Linked DNA regions of Homo sapiens: region 1 is linked to region 2. The links are contacts of gene promoters, found by promoter capture Hi-C in human tissues and cell types (Jung and others, 2019). All regions are on one chromosome and are shown on one strand. Each heading gives the region's core, a stretch centred on a gene start or on the middle of the fragment in contact. The rest is flanking DNA. Distances are from core to core; before and after follow the strand shown. Region 1 overlaps RNF103-CHMP3 (RNF103-CHMP3 readthrough). Region 2 holds the start of USP39 (ubiquitin specific peptidase 39).

Region 1 (5,129 bases), core at 1,306-3,805, 1.0 Mb after region 2:
GACTGGGGCCAAAGAATCCACAAAACTGTTAAATGAATAGCTAATGAAAGATATGAGCTTGGGTTAGGGACAAAGGAGAAAAACAATGTTAGGAATAACTTAGAAAAAAGAGCACTTGGTTCTACATGTATTTCATAGTGTGTCATTGGTAAAGATGTCATATGTATGTTGCTACCTTGAAAACTAAAATAAATTCTGTTCACATTACAGAGACTATACGTAACATGGACCTGGAAAAGCTTAAAAATATGAAGAGGATTGAACTGGCTGCCATCTGTGCATCTTCATTTATGAAAACACTCCTCATAGACTTAAAACAAATGACAGAGAACAAATTAGTCAGCTTCTTCTAAAATACAGTGGTCTCCCCTTACCCTCAGTTTCACTTTCTGCAGTCAACTGCAGTCCGAAAATACTACATACAATTAGATATTCGGAGAGAGAGACACCACATTTACATAAATGTTATTTCAGTATACTGTTATAATTGTTCTATTTTTATTAGTTGTTGTTGTTACTGTGCCTAACTTACACATTAAACTTTATCACAGGTATGTATGTATAGGAAAAAACATAGACTATATAGGATTTGGTACTATCCACGGTTTCAGGCATCCACTGGGGGTCTTGGAACGCATCCCCCTCAGATAAGGGGGGACTACTGTAAACAGAAAATAACAACAATTCAAATTGTTAAAAACAATTCTTGAAAGTTATCCTTTACAATAGATTAATATATATGATCTGAGCTGAAAGAATGGCAAGCAATGGAGACAATATTTCTCTTCTGTTTCTAGTAGATATTTTCAATTTTAAGCATAGTTTTAAAAAGTACAACCCTCTTTTAAGGGCTTAAACCAAGGTGGCTGTGCTGATTGGCTTAGCTGGCTAGTTCACAGTGCCAAGGACAGGGTTTCAATCTCATTCTTCTCAGTTGTCCTGCCAGAGATTGTTCTTTCAGACCAGGCCAGCCATTTGACAGATGTAAGCCACTGGCCTCAAGGAACACAAGCCAGACAGTGGTGGTCAATGCAAACCTTGAGCATCACTGGAAAAATTAAGCAGGTGTCCTACTGCATTATTTCCATACATAGAAAAACCACAGAAATACATTCTATTTTTAAAGAGTTGTTTTTCAACTATTAATACCTATAAGGTTTAAAAATATTTTCAGAGAAAAAAAATTTAGCAACTAGAATTTATAATGCTACCATTTACTATCATTATTTGTCCTTCACTTCATTTGTCACCTTACCAGAGAATTCCTTGCCACTCTCATCTCCTTAATCTGCTTATTTTTCTTCTTACTACTTTCCACTAACTGATGTTATATTAAATATTTATTTATTTGGTGTCTGCCTCTCCCAACTAGAATGTGAGCTGCCTGACAGAGCAAGGCCTTAGCTTGGTGTGTGTTTCTGGTATATCTTCAGGGCCCAGAACAGGGCCTGGCACACCCACAACTGAATAAACTTTTGATGAATTCTGTCACATATTTATTACAGGAGCTTAATTCATGGATATCTTTAACAGGACATCAAAAACAGTAGATCATTTACAAGCCAAGAACATACTGCTAACTATTGAACCAGAATGTATTTGTTGTCTATAGGCAGCAGCCTATATAGCAAAAGAACTCAAGACTTTTGACATAGCCCTTCCAAGTTTCAAAGGTGTGCAACATCTTCACCATTTATTTCCATGGGATCATTCAATGTGGGTGACATTTAGACACTGAAAGCAGGGCAGTGGGACTGGCTATTCAATTCATCCTCAGTAATAAAATCTAAAATTATCAAAACCAGTGTCTTTCTCAATCAGACTATTAGAAATAAGTACCAGAGAAAAGAAACAGAATAACAATATACTTATACATTAAAGCTTTAAAAAAGCTCCACCTTATTTTTCAACTCCAACTGACACAGAAATAAACTAAAATTTAAATAGATAATGTATAGACTACACTCATACTCTCACATTCTCTCCCATTGCTGAACTTAAAAATTACTGAATTAGATTATCCGGAAGGTAAAAGGACAAATGCAATAGGAAGGATACAATAAAGAAAGGCCATGGATGAACAATGTAAATCTCTGGAAGAATTCCCAAACCTCAACCCTTTAGCACAGTGGACTACAGTACCATTTTATCCTTTTTAGATGTATATGTATTTATTTGAGGCCACGTGCAACAGAAAAATATACCTATTTACAATCATACTGCTAGTCAGTGACAGTACCAGACCTGTAACAGCGACAGTACCAGACCTGCAACTAATGTCTCTGAACTCATAGCTTTTCCTACCATATTTTGCAGTCTTTACTCTCAGAAAGAAATATGAAGAAACTGTTTTAATTTTCATGCCCTGAATCAAACTTTGCCCACTCCAGTGTGAAATGATAAGAGTACCAGTCAAGAAATCAGAAGACCTGGGTTTCATCCTGGTTCAATACTACCAACTAGTTCCATGACCTTGGGCAAGCTACTTCACCTCTCAGAGTCTCAGAAAGGGTTAGTCTGATATAATTTCCAAGCTTCAGCCATTCACAGACTACATTAATAATTTTAGCCACATTCACGCTGTTAATTTACTTGATATGTCACTTTGAATGTACAGTTTTAAAATGTAAATAACTTTAGTCCTGTCCTAAGCAAAATTTATGAAATTTATGTTAATATAATTTTTCTAATTTACATTAAAATATGTAAATGATAATGCATGCCCACTCACCATAAATTACATCTTGGAAAGCATAAAATATTTTTAAGGTCCATCATAGCTCTAAAATTCTAATATGCTAATTAAGTCTCACAGTTTTGCTATCATAAAAACAAGGGTTAAAAATTATAATCTCATCATCCTGAGTTACGTAATGAGCACCCCCACCATTTTCCACAACAGCTCCTCTATAGTCACAAAGTTGGCTATTTCCCTAATACAATGATTCCTTTACTTTTACTTTAGGGTTCTTACTTATATATAAAAATTACTCAGGCCACTGAATTAAAAACTGGAGATAATAAAAACTAAGAGAAACAGTGCAAATCACTAAATAAAAGGGATATATATGTGTATTTCTCAATTCAACAAAGGTCCAATAACTAAAATAGATTTGCTTCTGGGGATTCTAAACAAAAAGTTGACCCCCATCCCCCATCTTTCTCTTTCCCACTACTCAATTTTCATCTTCCTCAGTCTCCAAAACCTTTTTAAGAAGATACTGGAGCCTCCCTAAGAGAACTGAGTTATGTGTGAGAAACAAGACACAAGGACACGGAAGTGTCACTGGCTGGTACATACTATTTTGGTAAAAATAATTTTTTTAGGGCTCTCGAATTATCAAATTATTACTGCTTTTCATACCTGAACCAGCCAGATGCCATCTTTTGTGTCTTCCACAAGCTCATAGAAGTGCATTTCACCACTGAAATTGGTACTAGAAACCGATTCGGATGCTTCTTCTTCCTTGAGAGCAGAATAGAGCTCACCCTCCATCAAGTCACCTGAAGAAAGGAAAAGAATAACACTAATAAGGTTGCAAGAATCCTAGATTCCCAATTTCAGTAATTCTATTTTTTACACTGTTAAGAATCATGATATTGTACTTTCATTGTATTTTATAGACAAGAACTACTAGAAGAACCTGGATATACCCACTTAGGAGTCATACATTCAATAAATATGTAGTAAGAACTTCCTATGCATCAGGGAAAAGTGAACAAAATAGACAAAAATCCATCTCTTATAGAACAGGGCTTATATTTTAGTGGGGTTATCACATAATTATTAGGAACTTACCAAATTTGTACCACTCCAAAAAGGCACAACTTTCTTAATTATTTAGTTTTATGAATGACACATACAGGCTTCATATACATTTTTAAACAGTATGGCTTATATGCTTCTTACTTAAAAGATGTAGAATTGGGTTCACAGAATTTGCCATCAGCCCTGCTTAAAAGAGCAACAGGGTTTGTATGACTTGGAGGTTAGAACTTTACCTGTTAGACAGAACAAACTCCATATTCATATACAAATTTATATTATAAATTTAGAGCTTGTATCATTAAACAAAAAGGAAAGGAAAACACTAAAATCAAATTATTTTAACTTTCGCCTTAAATATTAAACAGTGAGAAACCAAGTACTGCACCATGATAGCAGCAAAACCATTCACAATAAACACTTAAATTTTAAACTGCTATACCATGACTTTTCTGCCATAAAACGTGTGATTTGAGTCATACTGGGCTGTGCGTCTTAAAGTTAAATGTGGACTTCTAGTACATTCAATGTGCCAAGTATTTTTAGGCCCAAAAGAAGGCAATAATAAATAACAGTCAAAAGAAAAAAAAATGTGTGACCAAATTATTTTCCATAAAAAAATGATGGCTTTGGCAGTTGAGACACTTCTCATCTCTAAACCAAGAGAGTTTATTTATTAGAGATCTTTTACCCTAGTTACTCCACTTCTTCCCCCTATGGTAGAAATAAGAATCGCCATAAACCAGTCAGCAAACAAGGGGCAAGAATAATATACGATTTTATATTTTCTCTAAAGAAACATTTATCACTTCTGCAGAGTGTGTTCCTCTCCTCTACCCTAATAGTGAGATATGAGTTTTATAACCCGCAACCTACAAATATCCAAGTGTTAAACTGCTAGCGAGCTCATACTCTTGTCTATCACGCTACATGTCTATAAGGTACTAAAGAAGGAAAAGATTTGTCTTGTAAAAGATACAGCTGACAAAAATACTTGAAACAACAAAAAAGATAACCATCAGTTTCAGCTGCTTCCCACAGCAACGCAGAAAGCCTTTCTCAAATTACATTCCACTTTCAGGAAGTATATCCAAAGATATACTTTGTGCAGCAGTGAAAAAAATTAACCATATTTCTCACCCAATCCTACCAAAACCAACAATTACTAAAAACACATTCTTTAAGACATTGAATATTCTCTCAGCACTATTTCACGTATATTTCTCAACCCATTAAACAATGCAAGGGTACCTGTGACACAGAAGACAAAAAAAATTTTTCTTTTACACATCCAAGATGCAAATTTTTAAAAATCCTAACAGAAATATAATATAAACTCGAACATGGCAGGCATTTATACAAA
Region 2 (5,452 bases), core at 365-2,864:
TCCTGAAAGTAAAAGGAGGAACGCATCCACCATGGCTACAATGCTTGTTTATATATAGGATAAAAAGATCATGGGGAGATGTGCTCTGCTACAAGGGTTTGTGATAAAGGATTAATTTTATTATTATATTTTGCAAGAAGAAATATTATCTTTAAAGCAAAATTAGGAATGCCTTTATTCTCCAGATATTGGGATATTAGGACACTCCCAAGTCTGGATCTGTTTAGTAAACATTATCTCTCTGTTCCCTTAACTGTAGACATCTCTAGGCTAGGAATACCTAACTTCCTGGGAATGCAGCCTGTCAAGGCCCAGCCTCATTTTCCTAACCCTCACTCAAGATGGAGTTGGTCTGGTTGAAACGCCTCTGACATATACCGCAAGTCAGAATTCAGTAAATTGCACACAGTGTGGTGTGGTGTGGTGTGGTGTGGTGTGGTGTGGTGTGGTGTGGTGTGGTGTGGGTATGACAGAGTTTCACTCTGGTTGCCCAGGCTGGAGTGCAATGGGGCGATCTCGGCTCATTGCAACCTCCGCCTCCCGGGTTCAAGCGATTCTCCTGCCTCAGCCTCCTAAGTAGCTGGGTTAACAGGCTCGTGCCACCACGCCCGGCTAATTTTTGTATTTTTAGTAGAGATGGGGTTTCACCATATTGGCCAGGCTGGTCTCCAGTCCTGACCTCAGGTGATCCGCCCGCCTTGGCCTCCCAAAGTGCTGGTATTATAGGCATGAGCCACAGCGCCTGGCCTAAATTGCACACTTTAAACATGTAGTTTGTTGTATGTCAATTATACCTCAATGGAACGGTTCAAACAAGCAAACAAGTTCAAGGCAGGTCCTGAGGTTAGAGCTTTATTAGCTTCATGGTAAATCTGCCTTTACCGGGCATTTGCGTTTTCATGGTACCAAGAACCTTCTAAAAGTAGAATTAGGGCTGTCAAGGGGATGATTTGGGAATGTCGCCTAGTTTTCCTGTGCAGGATTGTCAGCCCCCAAGCCGCGGAGACTGTGGGAAACGACCTCACGGTGGTGGTTTCGAGGCACAAATCTGGGGCCGAATGACAGCTTCTTTGTTTTTGAGACGGAGTTTCGCTCGTTGCCCAGGCTGGAGTGCAATGGCGCGATCTCGGCTCACCGCAACCTCCGCCTCCTGGGTTCAAGCGATTCTCCTGCCTTAGCCTCCCGAGTAGCTGGGATTACAGGCATGCGCCACAATGCCGGGCTAATTTTGTATTTTTAGTAGAGACGGGGTTTCTCCATGTTGGTCAGGTTGGTCTCGAACTCCCGACCTCAGGTGATCCACCCGCCTCGGCCTCCCAAAGTGCTGGGATTACAGGCGTAAGCCACCGCGCCCGGCCTGACAGCTTTTATCCAGAAAACTGTCGCCAGTAAAGGTTCCCGTCTCAGTAAACTGTAAACGACAGTAGGCCCACAGAAGGTTCTAAGGGGAGAGGAAGCCAGTGCAGGAACAGCACCGCCCACAAATTTTCTGCAGCGTGATTTGTCCCCAGTGGCGACTCGTAGAGAGTTCGGGGCTCGCTACCAGCCCCTCTCCTGATTGGCCTTGTGCCGCGCGCTCGAGCGTGCTTGGCGCCTGCGCTGGACGACTCGGCCGGTAGTGGAGATGTCCGGCCGGTCTAAGCGGGAGTCTCGCGGTTCCACTCGCGGGAAGCGAGAGTCTGAGTCGCGGGGCAGCTCCGGTCGCGTCAAGCGGGAGCGAGATCGGGAGCGGGAGCCTGAGGCGGCGAGCTCCCGGGGCAGCCCTGTGCGCGTGAAGCGGGAGTTCGAGCCGGCGAGCGCGCGCGAGGCCCCGGCTTCTGTTGTCCCGTTTGTGCGGGTGAAGCGGGAGCGCGAGGTCGATGAGGACTCGGAGCCTGAGCGGGAGGTGCGAGGTGCGCGGGGCCGGGCCGGGCTAGGCGCGAGAGCCTGTTTTTTTCGCGTCCTTTTTTCTTGTCTCTAATCTTCCGCTAGGTCACTGCGCCGGAGTTGGGGGAGGGGTGGGGTTGGGGTGGAGAAGAGGAGGGATCCAGACTCGACGATTCTGCTGTTCGACTTGTTCTGATGAAGACAGTACCCTTCTCAATAATCGTATAGTATTTCTTTTTTCTTTTTTTTTTTTTTTTTGAGATGGAGTCTCATTCTGTCACCCAGGATGGAGTGCAGTGGCGCGATCTCGGCTCACTGCAACCTCTGCCTCCCCGGTTCAAACGATTCTCCTACCTCCGCCTCCCAGGTAGCTGGGATTACAGGCGCCCACCACCGCTCCCGCCACCACGCCCGGCTAATTTTTTGTGTTTTTAGTAGAGAAGGGGGTTTCATCGTGTTAGCCAGGATGGTCTCGATCTCCTGACTTCGTGATCCGCCCGCCTCGGCCTCCCAAAGTGCTGGGATTACAGGCGTGAACCACCGTGCCCGGCCAAACGTATGGTATTTCTAACTGCAAAAATCGTAACAACAGCAGCTTCCCTTTATCGAATGCCCGATGTGGGGGCTCAGTGCTGATTTTACAAGTGTTACTTCCTTCCATTTTAAAAAAGAATTTTTTTTTTTTTTTTTGCGTTTTAAGAGAAGCAAGTCTCGCTATGTTGCCTAGGCTGGTCTCGAACTCCTGGACTCAAGTGTTCCACTCACCTCGGCCTCCCAAAGTGCTGGGTTTACAGGCGTGAGCCACCGTGCACGGCTTTCCTTCAGTTTTTACATCTAAGGTCTTGTAATTTCTGTAATCAAGATATTCAGAATGCTTGAGCAATAGGCACCTCTACTAAAGTATGGATTATGTAGCACTTTTTAAGCTGAATAAAGTCTGGAGACAATTTTCCATTAGTCTCTTGAGTTTGTGCACGTACTGCGACCATTGCCTGACTGCCTTTTCTCCTGGACTCTCGTTAAGGATGTTCGTGTAGTGAGCAGCCTTGGAAGATAGAAATGGTGTCTCCCTACAAAACGAGGAGACAAGGGCACAATCCCTTATAAAAGATTTGGGGCAGGGTGTGGTGGCTCACACCTGTAATCGCAGCTACTCTATAGGATGAGGTAGAGTTCAAGACTAGGATAGGCAACAGAGCGAGACCTCGTTTGAAAAAATGGTTAATGGTTCAGATTCTCTAAGCACGGGGTTCGTCTCCTGTAAGGCAGCTCACTGTGTGCATGGGTTCTCCTCACTTTGCCTTGTGGGAATTCACTTGGAAAACTGACACCAATGCTATATTCCGGCTACTGTCATTGCTCTAATAAACTGTCCTTTATTTCAGGCCAGGTAGTCACATGCTTTCCATCAGCATTCATAAAACTGTGACAGGCTAACTTGTTAGCTTGCGAGTAGGGTAAGATCTGAGACCCACTCAAGTTTTTGACAAGTGGTAGATTTATAGATACACATGTACATTCTTTTTTTTTTTTTTGAGACAGTTTCACTCTTGTTGTCCAGGCTGGAGTGCAATGGCACGATCTCAGCTCACTGCAACCTCTGCCTCCCAGGTTCAAGCAATTCTCCTGTCTCAGCCTCCCAAGTAGGCTGGGATTACACGTGCATGCCACCATGCCCGGCTAATTTTTGTATTTTTTAGTAGAGATGGGGTTTTATTATATTGGTCAGGCTGGCCTTGAACTCCTGACCTCAGGTGAGCCGCCTGCCTCTGCCTCCCAGAGTGCTGGGATTACAGGCATGAGCCACTCACCCAGCCACTCTTTAAACTACGTAGTACATTTGTGGCCGGGCGCAGTGGCTCACGCCTGTAATCCCAGCACTTTGGGAGGCCAAGGAGGGTGGATCGCAAGGTCAGGAGTTCGAGACCAGCCTGGCCAACATGGTGAAACCCCGTCTCTTCTAAAAGTATGAAAATTAGCTGGGTGTGGTGGCTTGTGCCTGTAGTCCCAGCTACTCGGGAGGCTGAGGCAGGAGAATTGCTTGAATCCGGGAGGCGGAGGTTGCTGTGAGCTGAGATCGCGCCATTGCACTCCAGCCTGGGGGACAGAGCGAGACTCCGTCTCAAAAAAAAAAAAACAAAAAAAAAACGAAACACACAACTATATGGTACATTTGTATTACAATTAGTTTATTTTAGTGCTTGTGACATATTTCATATTTTTCATGCTTTATGGGATTTCTTTATGTAAAATGCAAACAAATCTTCTGTTGATTTTATGTATACCAAATATATTCTCCCAGTTTGTGGCTTGTTCTATTAGTGGGCTTTTTTCTTTTCTTTTTTTTTTGAGAGGGAGTTTTGCTCTTGTCGCCCAGGCTGGAGTGCAGCGGTACGATCTCTGCTCACTGCAACCGCCTTCTCCCAGGTTCAAGCAATTATCCTGCCTCAACTTCCTGAATAGCTGGGATTACAGGCACCCACCACCATGCCTGGCTAATTTTTGTGTTTTTTGTAGAGACGGGGTTTCACCATAGTTGGCCAGGCTGGTCTTGAACTCCTGACCTCAGGTGATCCACCCATCTCGGTTTCCCAAAGTGCTGGGATTATAGGCATGAGCTACCGCGCCCGGCTAGTGGACTTTTTTTTCGATATTGTTGCCACCCAAACAATAGGAACTCATCTTGATTAGTTTTTCCCATTTCTGTTTCTTTTTTTGTTCTGTTAGTTGGCCCTGAGTATAGGTTTCCCATTTTCAAAGCCTGTGATGATTTTCCTTTCAGCAAAGAATGGCCGAGTGGATTCTGAGGACCGGAGGAGCCGCCACTGCCCGTACCTGGACACCATTAACAGGTCAGTAGGACAGAGATGCTGAGTATAGCACAAGAACAATGGAATCTGTGCAGAAAGTTTTTGGACTGTACAGTGAACAACACATTGACAAACTTTACTTTTTTTGAACCTGTCTAGAGAGTTGTGCTTCTTGCCATGTTACTCCTTATTCTTTGATTTAAAGTGTCAGAACACATGTTGTTAAAGAGCTTATTTTGCATTTGTATGTTGGGATAACAGGATGCATAGTATCCTAAAATAACAGTAGCACATTGAAATGTTTATGGAGTATCTAGTATGTGCTGGATACTATTTTGGGTGCCTGGGATTCAGCAGAAAAAAAACACAGAAATTTGTTTGAAAGCTGAGGTAGTTTACCTCATCATAGCATTCTTTTCTCTGATTCCCAGGTGGCATGTAGAATGTTTTTCAACCTATATTGTAGGGGAATGTTTTACAATAATATAATTACTCTTGTAAGAGCTGGGTGTGGTGGCCCACGCCTTTACTCAGCCCTTTGGCAGGCCAAGGCAGGAGGATCCCTTGAGGCCAGAAATTTGAGACCAGCCTGGTCAACATAATGAGACCCATCTTTTTTTTTTTGAGATGGAGTTTCATTTTTGTCCCCCAGGCTGGAGTGCAATGGCGCGATCTTGGCTTACTGCAACCTTCGCCTTCCAGGTTCAAGTGATTATCCTGCCTCAGCTTCCTGAGTAGCTGGGATTACAGGTGCCCGCCACCACGCCCAGCTAATT

The links. The method cuts DNA at HindIII sites, captures the fragments that hold promoters and counts their contacts. A contact is called where the count stands out against the background at its distance.
Region 1: a contact is called between a fragment that was not itself captured here and the fragment with the promoter of USP39 in region 2, in 2 of the 25 tissues and cell types used here (dorsolateral prefrontal cortex and spleen).

The regions. Positions count from the first base shown.
Region 1 is chr2:86,616,966-86,622,094 of GRCh38, forward strand. It overlaps RNF103-CHMP3 (RNF103-CHMP3 readthrough), which reads right to left. Exons shown (of 8, transcript NM_001198954.1): 3 at 3,365-3,504. The coding sequence starts at 3,496. It overlaps RNF103 (ring finger protein 103), which reads right to left. Exons shown (of 4, transcript NM_005667.4): 2 at 3,365-3,504. It overlaps CHMP3-AS1 (CHMP3 and RNF103 antisense RNA 1), which reads left to right. Exons shown (of 6, transcript NR_183901.1): 6 at 211-484. Among named protein-coding and RNA genes, the nearest start is that of RNF103, 4.3 kb to the right of the region's middle. RefSeq lists a silencer at 327-376. The HindIII fragment of the contact is 6,359 bases long and covers 1-5,129 here.
Region 2 is chr2:85,614,572-85,620,023 of GRCh38, forward strand. It overlaps USP39 (ubiquitin specific peptidase 39), which reads left to right and starts at 1,615. Exons shown (of 13, transcript NM_006590.4): 1 at 1,615-1,892; 2 at 4,649-4,718. The coding sequence starts at 1,625. RefSeq lists enhancers at 1,279-1,328, 1,359-1,408. The HindIII fragment of the contact is 29,292 bases long and covers 1-5,452 here.